Linked DNA regions of Homo sapiens: region 1 is linked to region 2. The links are contacts of gene promoters, found by promoter capture Hi-C in blood cells and fetal thymus (Javierre and others, 2016). All regions are on one chromosome and are shown on one strand. Each heading gives the region's core, a stretch centred on a gene start or on the middle of the fragment in contact. The rest is flanking DNA. Distances are from core to core; before and after follow the strand shown. Region 1 overlaps CCDC93 (CCC complex scaffolding subunit CCDC93). Region 2 holds the start of CCDC93 (CCC complex scaffolding subunit CCDC93).

What was found. The method cuts DNA at HindIII sites, captures the fragments that hold promoters and counts their contacts. A CHiCAGO score of 5 or more calls a contact.
Region 1: a contact is called between a fragment that was not itself captured here and the fragment with the promoter of CCDC93 in region 2, in 1 of 17 cell types (monocytes). The highest score is 6.0, in monocytes.

Annotation. Positions count from the first base shown.
Region 1 is chr2:117,959,339-117,966,450 of GRCh38, forward strand. The region is part of intron 11 of CCDC93 (CCC complex scaffolding subunit CCDC93); the gene reads right to left. Among named protein-coding and RNA genes, the nearest start is that of CCDC93, 51 kb to the right of the region's middle. The HindIII fragment of the contact is 2,497 bases long and covers 3,500-5,996 here.
Region 2 is chr2:118,008,359-118,015,776 of GRCh38, forward strand. It overlaps CCDC93 (CCC complex scaffolding subunit CCDC93), which reads right to left and starts at 5,712. Exons shown (of 24, transcript NM_019044.5): 1 at 5,596-5,712; 2 at 187-300. The coding sequence starts at 5,637. RefSeq lists silencers at 5,200-5,249, 5,720-5,919. The HindIII fragment of the contact is 9,438 bases long and covers 1-7,418 here.

The sequences.
Region 1 (7,112 bases), core at 3,498-5,997, 50 kb before region 2:
ATTAAACAGTCAAACACCAACAATAAAACATCTTCTTTCTTATAGTAAGTACCCCAATTCCAAGCTAATCATTGATTCTAAACTCACATGCAACAAAAACCATTTGGATATTCAACTTTCCCTGAATGTTTTAACAGTGTCCTAGGCTTGAAAGTCTAAGATATTTACCCACAGGAAAAAGAAATGGGAAAGTGAGAATGAGGAGAAATTGGATGGCCATAACCATTTATTCTGGTTAAGGATTTCTCTGAATAATTCAGCAGGTATTATTAATGGATGATGAGTTCTTCTGCTACTTAACAATTTTGGAGTTACAAAACAACCAGCAGGATACAGCTGCATAAAATGGTAAGAAACATCACTTTCTGTCTCATGGGCTGGTAGGCCATAAAGGAAACAGAAAAACTAAGCATTTATTATTACAACACATTTAGCCTTGAAACCTGGGACTGTGTAAAATGTCAACATTATTTTAGCTTTTAGGATTTCTGGGAATTGGAATTAACTTTTTAAAATTAATTTTGGACGCACCAAGATATTCACAACTTGTAGTATGGAGAAGGACAAACTATTTCTGAAAATTATTTGAGAGTATTAAAAAAGGGTGGTGGAAGAGGAAAGACCAGCCCCACTCTAAATCACTTACAAAAACAGAATTACAATTAACTACATCTCCTCTACTTTGATTGGATTGACCTGAACTATGCTATTAATTTGGCCACTTTTGTATGTTATGTATTTAATAGCTTTTTTATAGTTAATTTTAGCTTTGAGTTTTAATATCCAGCTTAGATTCCTTGACTTTGACTTCCAAAGTGTCATAAGCATATTCTCAGAGCATTGTGCTTTACTAGCCGAATTACATAAGCCTTCTATTCATGCTTTTCTGATACCTGAAACAGAACTAATTTCCCATACAGTATGTCTCTATGTTTGGTGTGAGGATTATGCTTCAGTATCCTGACCTCCTCCAGATGCCTGTCAGGCTTCGAGACTGAGACGTGGGCAGGCAGGCTCCAGTGGATCCACGTATCACTCACCTTCCAGACTTCCTCCAGTGTGTGGGGGCTGAGTAAACTCATTCAATTCTGTTCTGCAGCTTTGGCATGGATTGGGTGATGTCTCTGACTGTTAGCAAGCTTTCTTGCTCATAAACTGCTTTTATGGCCAAAGTCCTAAGAAAATAAAAACTGCATTCCCCCACCCAGCTTCCATGCTCTCGTATTAGTGTATGTGGCACACATACAGCTTTGTTTTAAAATTATGACCTTCAGACTTCACTTACAAGAATTCTTCTTGCAGGAAAACCAGCAGCCATCTTGATATGTGGAAAGATTATTTCTGTTGATAGCTATCTAAGTCTCAATTTTGAGCCACATGCTCCCTCAAAACCCTGTCAGAAGGTCTCAGAGGCCAAATACCTTTTCATAATAATATGTTATTTGCCTTTTCACTCTCATTCTCGTGATTATACAGTGACATCTTCCAGATGTTACATGACATGTGATATCACTGATCTGATGTTAATATTAATGTGCTCATTATAATTTGTAAGTAAATACATAAGCTATTGGGTATGAATTAATACATGTTACTGTCAATGAATACGTAAGCTACTGTAAATGAATTAAAATACACAAGCTATTGAGTCCTCAGTTATTTTTAAGAGTCTTTAACTGGGTCCTGAAAGTATTATAAAATGTTGAGAACTGCTACTTTAATCTAAGGAGCCTGGTTCACTTGGTAACCCACCCATGGGCTGGGACAGTCAATGGGGTGGGCTCACCAACTGGCCAGCCATCGTTTATGTAACACCGAGAGGGAAAAGTTCTTTCTCATTCTGCTCTTTTACTAGACCCGTGATTCAGACAACCATACAGAGAGAAAATGCTCGCAATGCACAGAAAAATATCTTGAAATCTCTATAGGTACCTCTACCATATCTGTTATAGTAGTATATGTTCCAAGGAAACATGAGCTTTCAAACTGCTCTCTTTTATTGGTAGGTAATAATTCTTAGTCCTGTGTGGAGTCCTGTAAATGTACATTTACTGGCGCACAGTACTTATAAACTTGTAAGTTCCTCTGTTTGCCTCTGAGTTTAGAGACAGTGCTATGGGAAGCTGCTTTGTTTAATGGGAAGTTATTTTTAGTCAGATAAAACAGTTTATTACTGAGCTGAAATGAGAGTTCCTAACCTAGTAAACAGAAAGCTGACCGCTCTGTTTTTCAAACACACTTTTTATTAAGCAATCTAAATTTTTTGTTTCTCAAAGCCAAGAGAACTCAGACTGATGAAGACAGGAACAGGTCCGTAAACCAGCAGGTCTCATCTAATGGTTCATTCACTGAGAGATACGATGAGAAAGAAAACTAGATGACCAAGGTGGATTTTGAATGATGAGACAAAGTCAGACAGAAGGAGAAGAGGAAAAGGGGCTTTATACTAAATCCTTGACAGAAAAAATTTAAACCGTAGAGCATCTTAACAGATTTCTGCTGCCAAAATGCAACATCTGTCAAAGAACATCAACCATCTACAAATATTCCATTTGTGTTTACATTGCAGTGAGGGCTAAAGTGCCAATCTAATTTGTTCAACATTTTCAGATTAAGAACGTGCTTTCAAAACCACATTGTGGATTAAGATGACTTCTAGTGTAAATTTAGTGTTTTCTAATAACTGACAGATATTCACAACTTCTATTTTTAGAGGAAACAGATTTAAATGTCACCGAATAATATTAGTCTAGTTCAAAATGGTAAATTCCCAAGAGAAGCAAAAAATGATTACTTTAGCTAAAACTATATACTTTTATAATTGAAAGAAACCCAAAAGGTTATTTACACATCAACCTTCTAATACAGGGTTCTCTCCTATATCATCTCCCTACCCCACCAAAATATGGTCACTAAGCTGACAATAATAAAGAATTCCTATCTTACAAGGTACCAGGAGTTCTCTACACTAAATAGATGGACTTCAATTTTTGGTACCCTGACTGACCAATTAAGGACAAGTAGGCTGGGCGCAGTGGCTCGCGCCTGTAATCCCAGCACCTCCAGAGGCCAAGGTGAGTGGATCACTTGAGGTCAGGAGTTCAAGACCAGCCTAGCCAACATGGTGAAACCCTACTCTACTAAAAATACAAAAATTAGCCAGGCATAGTGGCATACGCCTGTAATCCCAGCTACTTGGGAGGCTGAGGCATGAGAATTGCTTAAACCCAGGAGGTGGAGGTTGCAGTGAGCCGAGGTCACACCACTACACTCCAGCCTGGGCGGCAGAGTGGGACTCTGCCTCAAATAAATAAATAAAGACAAGTAAACAGACTATGTGAAATATTTATTTAAAAATGTTTTTAAATCTAAGAACTAGCAAGAATGTTAAATTTCGGAAGGCCAAAAAGTAACTGAAAGTGGGAATCCAGGAATGTATATGTACCCACTGAAGTTGGCTTTTTTTCCTGAGAGTATTTGCCAAAACCTGATGATCACAAGCTTTGATTTTTACAATTCAGTAACAACTTTTTACCACATAAATCTTGATACAGCTGTAAGAGGGAAAAAATCCACAATGAGATTTTGTAACAACAGATTGGACCTCATGCAGTTCTGCAATCCTAATTCACACACTACTTTGGGGCAAAAAACCCATAAGTAAGGACTAGGTATAAAATGCACTTGGGCTGAAGTATCCCCAGGTGCTTGGCAGAAGCAAAAGCAGATCTTCCCTGAAAGAACAGAGCTTCAATCCTAGGCCTCAAATAGTTCCTACAGATAAACTTCTAAGGGATATGGGGCTCACAGTCAAAAATCAAAAGCAGACAAGAAGTCAAACTACCATAAACAAAAGCCAGTGAAAACAGACAGCAGAACTGCATCTGTAAAGACTTATTCAAATACACCCCCTCCCAATGCACACACCATATACATACAAGCATGCCCATTCCTCCCTAAAGCAACAGATTAAATCTAATCACTCTTTCAGATAACAGTTCAACTAAGTGTCTACAGCTCTTCCACCTGTCCTTTCTATAACAAGATGCTGACACCTTTCACCACCTTGGATGTTATCCTAGTTTGTAAGTGAACTTCTAAAGCACTCCTGATGATGTGTGACCACTGCAGATAGGAGGGAATCATCCACTTTCCCTGATCTATATTCTGCTTCCAAAAATGAAACTCAATACATGAATGCTCTTTTCAATATTTTTAAAACCCACTAATGAAATTCCATGAATTTCAAAAACCCATAGTTATGTAACCTTGTTGAGTCTAAGGCTTTGCTTTGGGTCCCACTGTGAGTAATGCGGTGTGCCTGCTCAGAATGCACTTAACATTTAGGAGGTGTGAACAAAATCCAAAACCTCCTCTTTAATCCCCATACACTACTGTCAGGTCAGATGGCATCCTCACCAAATCATGAATTGGTACAACTCACTTTTCTGAAATTCAACAGTTTTTTCATTTTTCTTAAGTGATGTTCCAATTATCTTTGCAAGTGATGCTTTAAGTGATGCTCAAATCTGGCAAGGCTAAAGTCCAAGTCTTTATGCAAATTGATACGGACTCTGAAATGTATAAGTTGTGCTGTGTGGCTTGAGATCATTTTACCAGGCTGACAATTCATTAGTTGATACCATTATCCTTGCAGTTAGGTATTGTATACTAATTACGTAAGAGTCGATCCGAATTCAGGAAATCTTAGAGCCGTTTGTAAACAGAAACATATTTAGCATTGTTCTCTCCAGATTTACAGGGTTCCTTACTCTCTTAACTCTGATTAAAATTTTAAATCTCTCTCCCCACCTTCCTTGGCTTATTTCAGCTAATCTTTACTCAGATCTTATTGTGTGGGGGCACGGTGGTATGCACTGGGGAAGTGGGAAAAGACAAAGACTGTACCTCTGGCCCTTCATAATCTAGCCAGACAAAACCAGCTAATTCGTAAGTAAAGGTGTTGCATCCTCTGCATTCTCCTCAATGCCTAAATTGTGTCACAGAGGAAAAGGGTTTTGAAAGCTGCTGTTGTTCCTTCCTCTCCCTCTCTTCCTTTCTTCTTTCCTTCAGCAAATATCTGTGAAAACCCAATTGTGTTGGGCACTGAGAGTATACTATAATCCTAGCCCTCCTGGAAAGCAAACATTCTAGTCCTGGGAGACAAGCAAAGAAACAAACGAAACAGTGCTTGAGGGAAGTGCTACAAAGGAGATAAAGAGCTGATCTCTACAACATCACTGAAGAGCCTCTTTTAAGAAGTAGAATTTTTTTTTTTTTAAGAGGGTCTCACTCTGTTGCCCAGGCTGGAATGCAGTGGCATGATCATAGCTCACTGCAACCTCAAACTCCTGAGCTCAAGCAATCCTCCTGCCTCTGCCTCCCAAGGAGCTGGGACTGGAGGTACATGTCACTATACCCAAGTAATTTTAAAAAAATATTTTGTAGAGATAGGGGTCTCACCATGTTGCCCAGGCTGATCTCAAACTCCTGGCCTCAAGCGATCCTCTCGCCTCAGGCTCCCAAAATGCTTGGATTACAGGCGTGAGCCTCTGTGCCTGGCCCAGAATCATTGCTAATGGCTATCAGGTGAGTCTCCACAAAGTCTTCAAGTGATCCATTATCTTCTACTGAGTATTTATTATGAATGAAGCAACAGGAATACAAAGATAAAAAATGAAATATTGGCCCTCTAAAACTTCAGAGGTTAGGAATATGATTTATGCAACACCTATTATGTTATGTGAGGAAATAGTATCTAGAATGAAGGGGTTTAAAAATCTACCTAGACCCCCACCCCTCCTGATTTTAGACCCCCAAACCCTCCTGGGTTTTTCTATCTGTGGCCACAATAGGAGGTTTCCAAGAGAGGAACACCCCCACCCCTTTCCTGACTCATACTACACTTCTCCCCAACTCCACAAACCGATGCTGCTAGCAAGTGGTAACATTTTTTGAGTTGGGCAGGATGATAGGATTGGAAACACTCACATCTAAGCTTATTAGAAATCACACAGGTGGCAGATCAGGCTGATTTTCTAACAAAGCAGTCGGGGTCCCCGGGCTGCTAAGCTTCCTGTTACTTTCTGGCCCAGGCAATGTCCCTGGGGTGTGGTATCTTCACTCAGTCCTAAGCCCTTCCCTTTTCCATTTCTAACCCCATGGTATAATTTTAAAAGTCATCCATTCTGCCTGGTTATTATCAGGCAAAAATATTTTAATATCAACAAAAATATCAACAACTTTTCTTTGGGCAGATACTGTCACTTCAAATGATAACACAAACCTAGTAGCACCCGGCAGCCACTTTATAGGCATACAAATTGTATTATTCTGTAATTTATGTTTTCACAGGTTGACTGACTCCTTACTGGAAGCCCCTCAGGGCCGCAACCCTGACTCACGCGTAACGCAATCCCTGCCCCCTACACCTGACACTGCCTGGATGCAGATCTACTCAACAGGTGTTTGCTGAAAGAAGAAATATATCTAATCACTCTTTCACATGACAGTGATTATGAGGTCAATTCCATCAGTTCTCTGGCAGAAAAAAAAAACAAAGACTTAAAATATAAAAAGATTGTATTAATTTAAAAATATATTTTCAGAAGACTTCATACGTTTGGAAAAAGTGTAAGAGTTACAAACCCAGGGTGGAGAAATAACAACGTGAAGGCAACTACTAAGAGGACAAACGATATATTAACAATTGATTCTTTTGGGTCAATTCCCTCCAACTTTGTTGAATAAATTTCCTGAGGGCCTAGTGGAAACGAAGGCCTTATGGGGGTGCTAGCCACCATGTGTGCCCCATATCTGTTGGTAGAAAAGTAATCCCTGTCTCCTACTCTTTCTAGTTCAGAGGGGCTGCCAGTCACACCCAACTCCTGGCAACAATGGGCCTGGGGAGAAATCTGTGACCTAAGCCATGACAGACAGAGGACAGTCCTTCCTTAGGATTTTATACACTGATGGAGGAAGGGGGCAGTAAGACAGAAACTGTCTACAGTCAGGCCTCCAAGGTGATGAAGCCAAGACAGAGACAAAGTGAAGCAAGGGTAAAGGGATATGGCAGGGCCATTTGAGTCCCCCACTAAATACTTCCAGTTCTG
Region 2 (7,418 bases), core at 4,462-6,961:
CACTGATACATCATTTCTGTCTTTGAAAAGAAGTTTGAACACTTCCATAATGAATCTGAATTAGGAAGAAATGGAAACACAGACATGGAAGAAGTTAAAACATCATCTTTTCCTCCTTTCTTTGCCATGATTAACCATGTCATTCTGACAAAAGATAGTGTAATGGTTAGAAAGATTTCCCCTTACCTTGTCAAAGGGTGATAAGCCTTTAATTCTTGCCCTGAAATACCCAGCTGCAACCAAGAGCTCCAGAATTTCAGTCAACTTGACATTTTGTTCTTCATCTTCTCTTGTTTCCACCTAAAATAAAAGGTAAAACTTTGGCTGGTAAAAGATATGCTGAATAAAGGAACACCAGGTATATCCCCTGATGCCACAAGCTCATTGCCAAGGAGTAGATGACATTGGCTACATCACCACAATAGATTCTCTGAAAATTCAGCAAGTGTCACACAGAAGTATGTGGACAGTGTTGTTGGAGTCACAAATGGGTCCGCGGTCCTCAACGGGCTGTTAATCTTCATAGCTGAGGGAGACACATGCCCAAGTAGTATATACTACTCATCACATGCTGAAGGAATCCAGGGAAAAGGAAGGTTAGAGCACAATACTTCCTTTTTCTCTAACCCATGGTTTACTTTGACAGTCTTCTCAAATGGATTATGACTCCTTACAAACAGGAACAAGGTTTTATGGTGTTTTCTAAAAAAAACTTTACACTTAGGACTTAGGGCCGGCGTGGGGGCTCACACCTGTAATCCCAGCACTTTGGGAGGCTGAGGCGGGCGGATCACTTGAGGTCAGGAGTTCAAGACCAGCCTGGCCAACATGGTGAAACGCTATCTCAACTAAAAATACAAAACTTAGCCAGGTTTGGTGGCCCATGCTTGCAATCCCAGATACTCAGGAGACTGAGGCACAAGAATCGCTTGAACCCAGGAGACAGAAGTTGCAGTGAGCCAAGATCGTACCACCGTACTCCAGCCTGGACGACAGAGCAAGACTCTGTCTCAAAAACTTTATACTTGGCCAGGCACAGTGGCTCAGGCTTCTAATCCCACCGATTTAGGAGGCCAAGTGGGGGTGCCGATCACTTGAGGTCAGGAGTTTGAGACCAGCCTGGCCAACATGGCAAAACCCCACCTCTACTAAAAATACAAAAAATTAGCTGAGCATGGTGGTGCACACCTGTAACTCCAGCTACTTGGGAGGCTGAGGCACGAGAATCACTTGAACCCAGGAGGCGGGGGTTGCAGTGAGGTGAGACTGTGCCATTGCACTCCAGCCTTGGTAACAGAGCAAGACTCTATCTCTAAAAAACAAACAAACAAAAAAAGTTATACTCATCCAGAAGTTACTGACAACAGGCATAGAAATGAAGAAGGGAATTCAAAAGTGCATCCCTCACTGTACTTCCCTTTTCGATCTCGAAAACAAATATATGAAAGGCTTCCAACCCAGATACATTAAAGGGTGATTATTGCCACATAATAGGATTGCCTTAAAAATAATAAATTCATCTAATATATGTATATCAGTATTTTGCTTTTTTTTTGTTTTTTTGTTGCTTTTGTTTTTGTTTTTGAGACAGAGTCTCGCTCTGTCACCCTGGCTGGAGCACGGTGGCGCAATCTCGGCTCACTGTACTCGGATCCCAGAGAGAACCTCCACCTCCTAGGTTCAAGCGATTCTCCTGCCTCAGCTTCCCGAGTTGCTGGGACTACAGGCACATGCCACCACGCCCGTTTTTTTGTTTGTTTGTTTGTTTTTGTATTTTTAGTAGAGATGGGGTTTCACCGTGTTAGCCAGGATAGTTTCGATCTCCTGACCTCATGATCCACCCGCCTCAGCCTCCCAAAGTGCTGGGATTACAGGCATGAGCCATCGCGCCTGGCCGTATCTCAGCATTTTGATTTAAAATTTTTAATTTATATCCTCCTTTTACCCCAATCTTTATCTAATACTTAAATCCATCTAAATATTCTAATACTCTTTCATCTATTTACTATCATGAACTACCTTTCCTCTCTTCCTTTGCTACCAAAAATAAAAAACCATCTCTCTATATAAAACACCAATAAGATATCCTGGTTCACATGCTCATAATCATCTCTGAGTCCTCCCTTACCCAACAATGCCTGTTAAGTCTTCCTTTACTATGCATCTCACATTTATCTTCCCTTCCCTTTCATTCATACTTCATTCCAGAACTCTTGCAAATGCTTCTTCATCTTTCTTCCTTTAATTTGTTTTGCTCATCCCTTCCTAAATCACAGCTTTCATGTTATCCCTCTTTAGCTCACCCTCCCAGCCCTTATCAACAATGCACCACACACACTGCCTGTAAGATAAACTCCAGATGTCTGGTTTCACATTCAGATCTTTGGCCACCAAACTATCTTTTCAGGTTCATCCTTTAACTACCCCAAAAACAATCAAGACAAGGCCATGGCTATATTCTCTAACCACTGAGAAATCACTTTCAAATTCCAGCTCCCATGCAACACCATCCCTCACAAGTCTATCCTGAAATGGCCACTCTCCTCAGCATTTCTGTACATATAACTAAGTATCAACTATATACTGTACATATAACTAAGTATCAACCTCTTCAAAGTGAGATATCTAGTGTTATACACATGCTTGTCTTTGCAACTGGACTACTGATTGATTAACGAGAGGACTATATATTATATACTTGGGTTTACTCCTCTGAATCCAAACAACATTAAGCTCCAAGGACACACTTATTAAATAAAGAATGATCTACTAATGCTTACATAAAGTAAGTGAACCTAAACCAGTCATGTATTAATAAAATGTTTCAGTGATCACATCCCTGACAATGGAAAGTTTATTTTGATGTATAAACTGCCAGGAAAGGGAGTATACATATTAAAATATAGTTAATACAGAATTATTAAAGTGACTGATAATCCCCTGCAATAGAGTAGGAGTGGCGTGGGGGAGGTGACAGCACTGAGCTACATCCGTCTCTGAAATGACCCTGGTCCAGTCCATTAAGGATCCTGAAGATCAGCATTCACTAGTTCCTAGTGGACATAAAAATTTTCTTAAGTAATATAAATAATTCACACCTTCTCTCCCTTCTGCAAAAAATCTGGGATGGTTGAGAAACGTCTACAAGTGAAAACACTCTAAGAAAAGAGAAGCTAAAGAGTAGTTGTAGTTCAAGTCAGCAGAAAAAGAAAATGAGATAATATAAGTACTTTCTTAAAACTTCTGGGGTGTAAAACAGGAACACTTCATTTGTTCAATCATTTATTATGAAAACATGAGAAGAAGACAAAAAAAACCAAAAAAAAATAGGATCATCACTGCCTCAACACCTATCTAATGGACACCCACTGGCCACCCCACCACAGATGCAGGGCCCAGGCTTCCATCCACTCACCCCTAGCATGGAGAAGTTTACTTTTGCAATATAACTTGTGAAGTAATTTTGGCACAAGACACTAAATGGGAATGTATGACTCCAAATTCACTTAGCAGATTAACACTGAAATCAAATGGAAAAGGGCCACTGTCTGATCTGCTGGGAATGAAAGACCCTCTCTTGAAGCAATAAAAATCCACCAGGCTGGTTAATACATCCAGTTGTTGAAGCTAAATTTCTGACAAAGACAAACAACAATGAGCTCTTACACAAAGCCCAATAAACTTTCAATTTCCGTCCACTATAGTTGTTGTAAGCTGGAAGGCAGGCCAAGTCTAGCTATCTTTGTAAAGGGTTAAAAAGAATGAATTCGGGCAGGGCAGTGGCTCACATCTGCAATCCCAGCTACTGGGAAGCCTGAGGCATAAGAATTGCTTGAACCTGGGAGGCAGAGGTTGCAATGAACCGAGCTCACGCCATTGCACTCCAGCCTCGGTGACAGAGTGAGACTCTGTCTCAAAAAAAAAAAAAAGAATGAATTTAATGAATTAACTGGTCTAGTGACATCCTAATAACACAGACTATCCATATTTATATTTACTAGCTTCTGAACTAAATGATGATAAGTTATTGCTTGACCTGGTGAGTGTGGCCTCTTAGCAGTCAGTGAAAGTTTAAACGAAGGACATACAGCAGCAGGTTGCTCTTCATTAATTAATTTATTTATTTTCCCCCCAGAAAGACCTCCACTGATAGTACTGTGGAATATTGGGTTGGACGGATTTAAAGTAGAACGTGGGAGACCAGACAGAAGTCTACAGCAAAAGGCCAGGCAAAAACTTGATGAGAGCCTAGAATACAGAAGTGGCAAAAAAGAAAACTTCAAATGTCACAGTACAAATCCTATTGTTCACTATCCTGGGTCCCATCCCAGGCAACGTGCATGTAAGATTTTACCTAATACAGGGGTTCTGACAACATTATGCTTGTCAGGTTTTCTTAAGACAACAAAATGGACTTGCATTCGGGGAGCACACACTGACAAACAAATCTGTCCTTTCAGACTATATATATTCCCAGCTTCTGGACACAGAACACAGTGATCCCTCAATTAGTGGATACTTGTGATATGAAAGAACTGAGGATTTGGGAGGAATGCAGAGGAGTAACATTGGTCACTGGCAGGTAAGTGTGAAGGGACGACTCACCACGTCAAGCAAGCAGTCACCCTGCCCAATGCCTGCTCCAGAACCTTAGGAAAAAGGCAGAGGTGCGGCGTGGCTTCCATTTCTCTCCAGAATCCAGTAAACTAGACTAGCCTTTGAGTAAAATCAACTGAAAGGGACGACAGATGCAAACTACCTATGAGATGCTAAGTGGTATTTGCAGCCAAAAGAAAATGAATACACTTTCCCTGTATTCCCAGCAAACGTGGAAATCCGCAAACCACTCATGACCCCCTCCCTAGCACTAAGTGAGTACTTAACAAACACCTTTGGAAAAGAACCCCGCCCTCTTCTGGAGAAGCCGCAGCCTTTCCGCCCAGAGCCGGGTCCCCCGCCACACAGCACCCCTGGAGTGCGTCCCACCCCGAACGCCCCGGCGCGCTGACCCAGCGGGACACCTCCCTGGTGCGCGCAAGTCTCCCAAACTTCCTCCCGCCGCCCCGGCCCGGGTCCACGCAAGGAGGGTGGCATTCCCTCCCGACAGCAAGGCGGGTGGGGCGGGCCGCCGGGACTCTGCGGGGTGGCGGTAGACGTCCCAAGGTCACCACCCGAGCCCGAACCGCCTCGGAGAGCGGTCTCGTGACTCCAGCGCCCAGCAGCCTCGGCCCTCGGGGCTAGCCCTGCGGCGCGGGGTGGGGGAGCCCGTCCCGGACAGGGAGAAAGGTGGGAGCCCAGGACCCCGCGGCGCGTGGGGCTGCGTCAGAGCAGGTGTCGGGCTAGGAAGGCCACCTGCGCCCCAAGAGACCCGGGAGCGGCTTAAGTTTGTCCTCACCCGCCCGCCGCCCCCTGCCCATGCAGGGGTACCTGCTCCCCGCCTCCAAGAAGAGGGTCGGCGCTTCCCTGAGGTGGATACGCCTGAGGAAGGGGGCGGGGCGCCCCTAACGCACCCAGGGCCCGCTCAGCCCGCCGCCCCGCGGCTCGGCCCTCTCTTCAGGAACCCCGACGTGTCAGGGAAGGAGGAGGCGTTCTTACCTCCGGGAGACCCTGGCCCTCCGGCCCCCTGGGCAACCCCATGATCCGACCGGGCTGTCGTAAGGCGAGAGCGAAGCCCGCCAAGCGTCCGGAGGAAGCTGTCCCTGCCGCGGAGCTGCTACCGGGGTGGAGTACAAAGCGGAAACTCCCTCTGCCGCCGCCGCCGCCGCCGCCGCCGCCTGCCCGAAGCGCCGCAGCCGGGCAGAGCATGCGCGCTGGGGCCGGAGCGCGGCGCCACTGCGCCTGCGCCACAGCAGCCCGGGGAGAGGTGGGCTGGGCTGCAGGTCCTGGCGTTGTGCTGGATCATCGCGCCCGTACTCTGAAGTTTTCTCCGTGGCGCTCTTTGAGAGGGGTTCCTCCTGCATCTTGAGAATATTTTGCATTTCGGCTCCCTTCTCTTCTCGCTGCCATCGGATGCCCCAAATAGGTCCTGTCCCCTCGGTGAATCAGACTTCGGAAACCGCCTCGCTTCAGGGTCAGAGTCCAAGTACAGATGAGCTTGAGGATTCTGAATGCACGCCCGGCTCTAGACCTTACAGACACACGCTTGGACAGACTTCTCCATATACGACCCAGGAACGGACCCCTTGAGAAGGGATTCTTCAAGCCCGCTGCCCTCTCCAGCGTCCTGGCCAGTGGCATCGCGTTCCCAGGAAACCTCGCTTCAGATATTGCCCACCACCCCGCCCTATTCACGGTTCCTGGGTCTTCCTGGAGGAATGACATCTCAGAGAATGCGGACTCCTATGTTCATGTCATTTGAGCCGCCGCGTCCCTTATTTGATGTACCCCTTGTTGGTCCCGGAGGATGGCAACTAGACAAAAGGTCACAGGCCCCCACACCCGCTCCATAACGGCTTCTTGGCTTTTTGTTTCTTTTAAGCAATGAGGAAAGAGATGACTTTCGTGAAAACTTTTGCTGGAGAAGAGATCCTTCCCTCTGTATATGTGTGTGGGATGGGAAGTGTCAGACTCAGACCTTTAGTTCCTTGAGATCAAAAAGGTTTCGTGTTTGCTTTCGTCTCTTCTTTGCATCCCTAGCGTCTTTAAAAGAGTAGGCAGGCGCGGTGGCACATGCCTGTAATCCCAGCACTTTGGGGGTCGAGGCGGGAGTATCACTTGAACCTAGGAGTTGGAGACCAACCTGGGCAACATAGTGAGACCTCCATCTCTACAAAAAATAAGAAAATTAGCCCGGTGCCAGTGGTCCCAGCTAGCCGGTAGGCTGAGGTGGGAGAATTGCTTGAGCCAGGAAGGTTGAGGTTGCAGTGAGCTATGATAACACCACTGCACTCCTGCTTGGGTGACAGAGCAAGACCCTGTCTAAAAACTATATATATATACGTGTATATATATATATGTGTGTATATATATATACGTGTATATATGTGTGTATATATATACGTGTATATATATATGATGTTTTCTATTTTATTTTATTTTTGCACCTTTTGTACTCCTCCTGGAGTTCATCCTGACAGACAGAGGTTTGTCTGGAGCCAGAGCTCACAAATAGTTGGAACTGCCCTAAGGATGCCATTTTGTTCTTAAATATAACTAGCAAATATTACTCAAAGCTGTGCACGATCCCCAAACCCTGGTCCCCAATAATTTGAATAATCTGAATATGCAAGTTAAGGTATTGAGATGGGAACCCTCCTGTGTGGTATATCTTGCTCTTATCCTTTGTGAAGCCAATAAACTTCAATTTCTACTCTCATAACTTCCCAAATGTGTTGTTTTTGTAGTTTTAAAACTGTCATTCACTGAAATGGTATAGGTTGATGGGGAATGGAGAGTGATAATAATTTGTGGCCACTGTT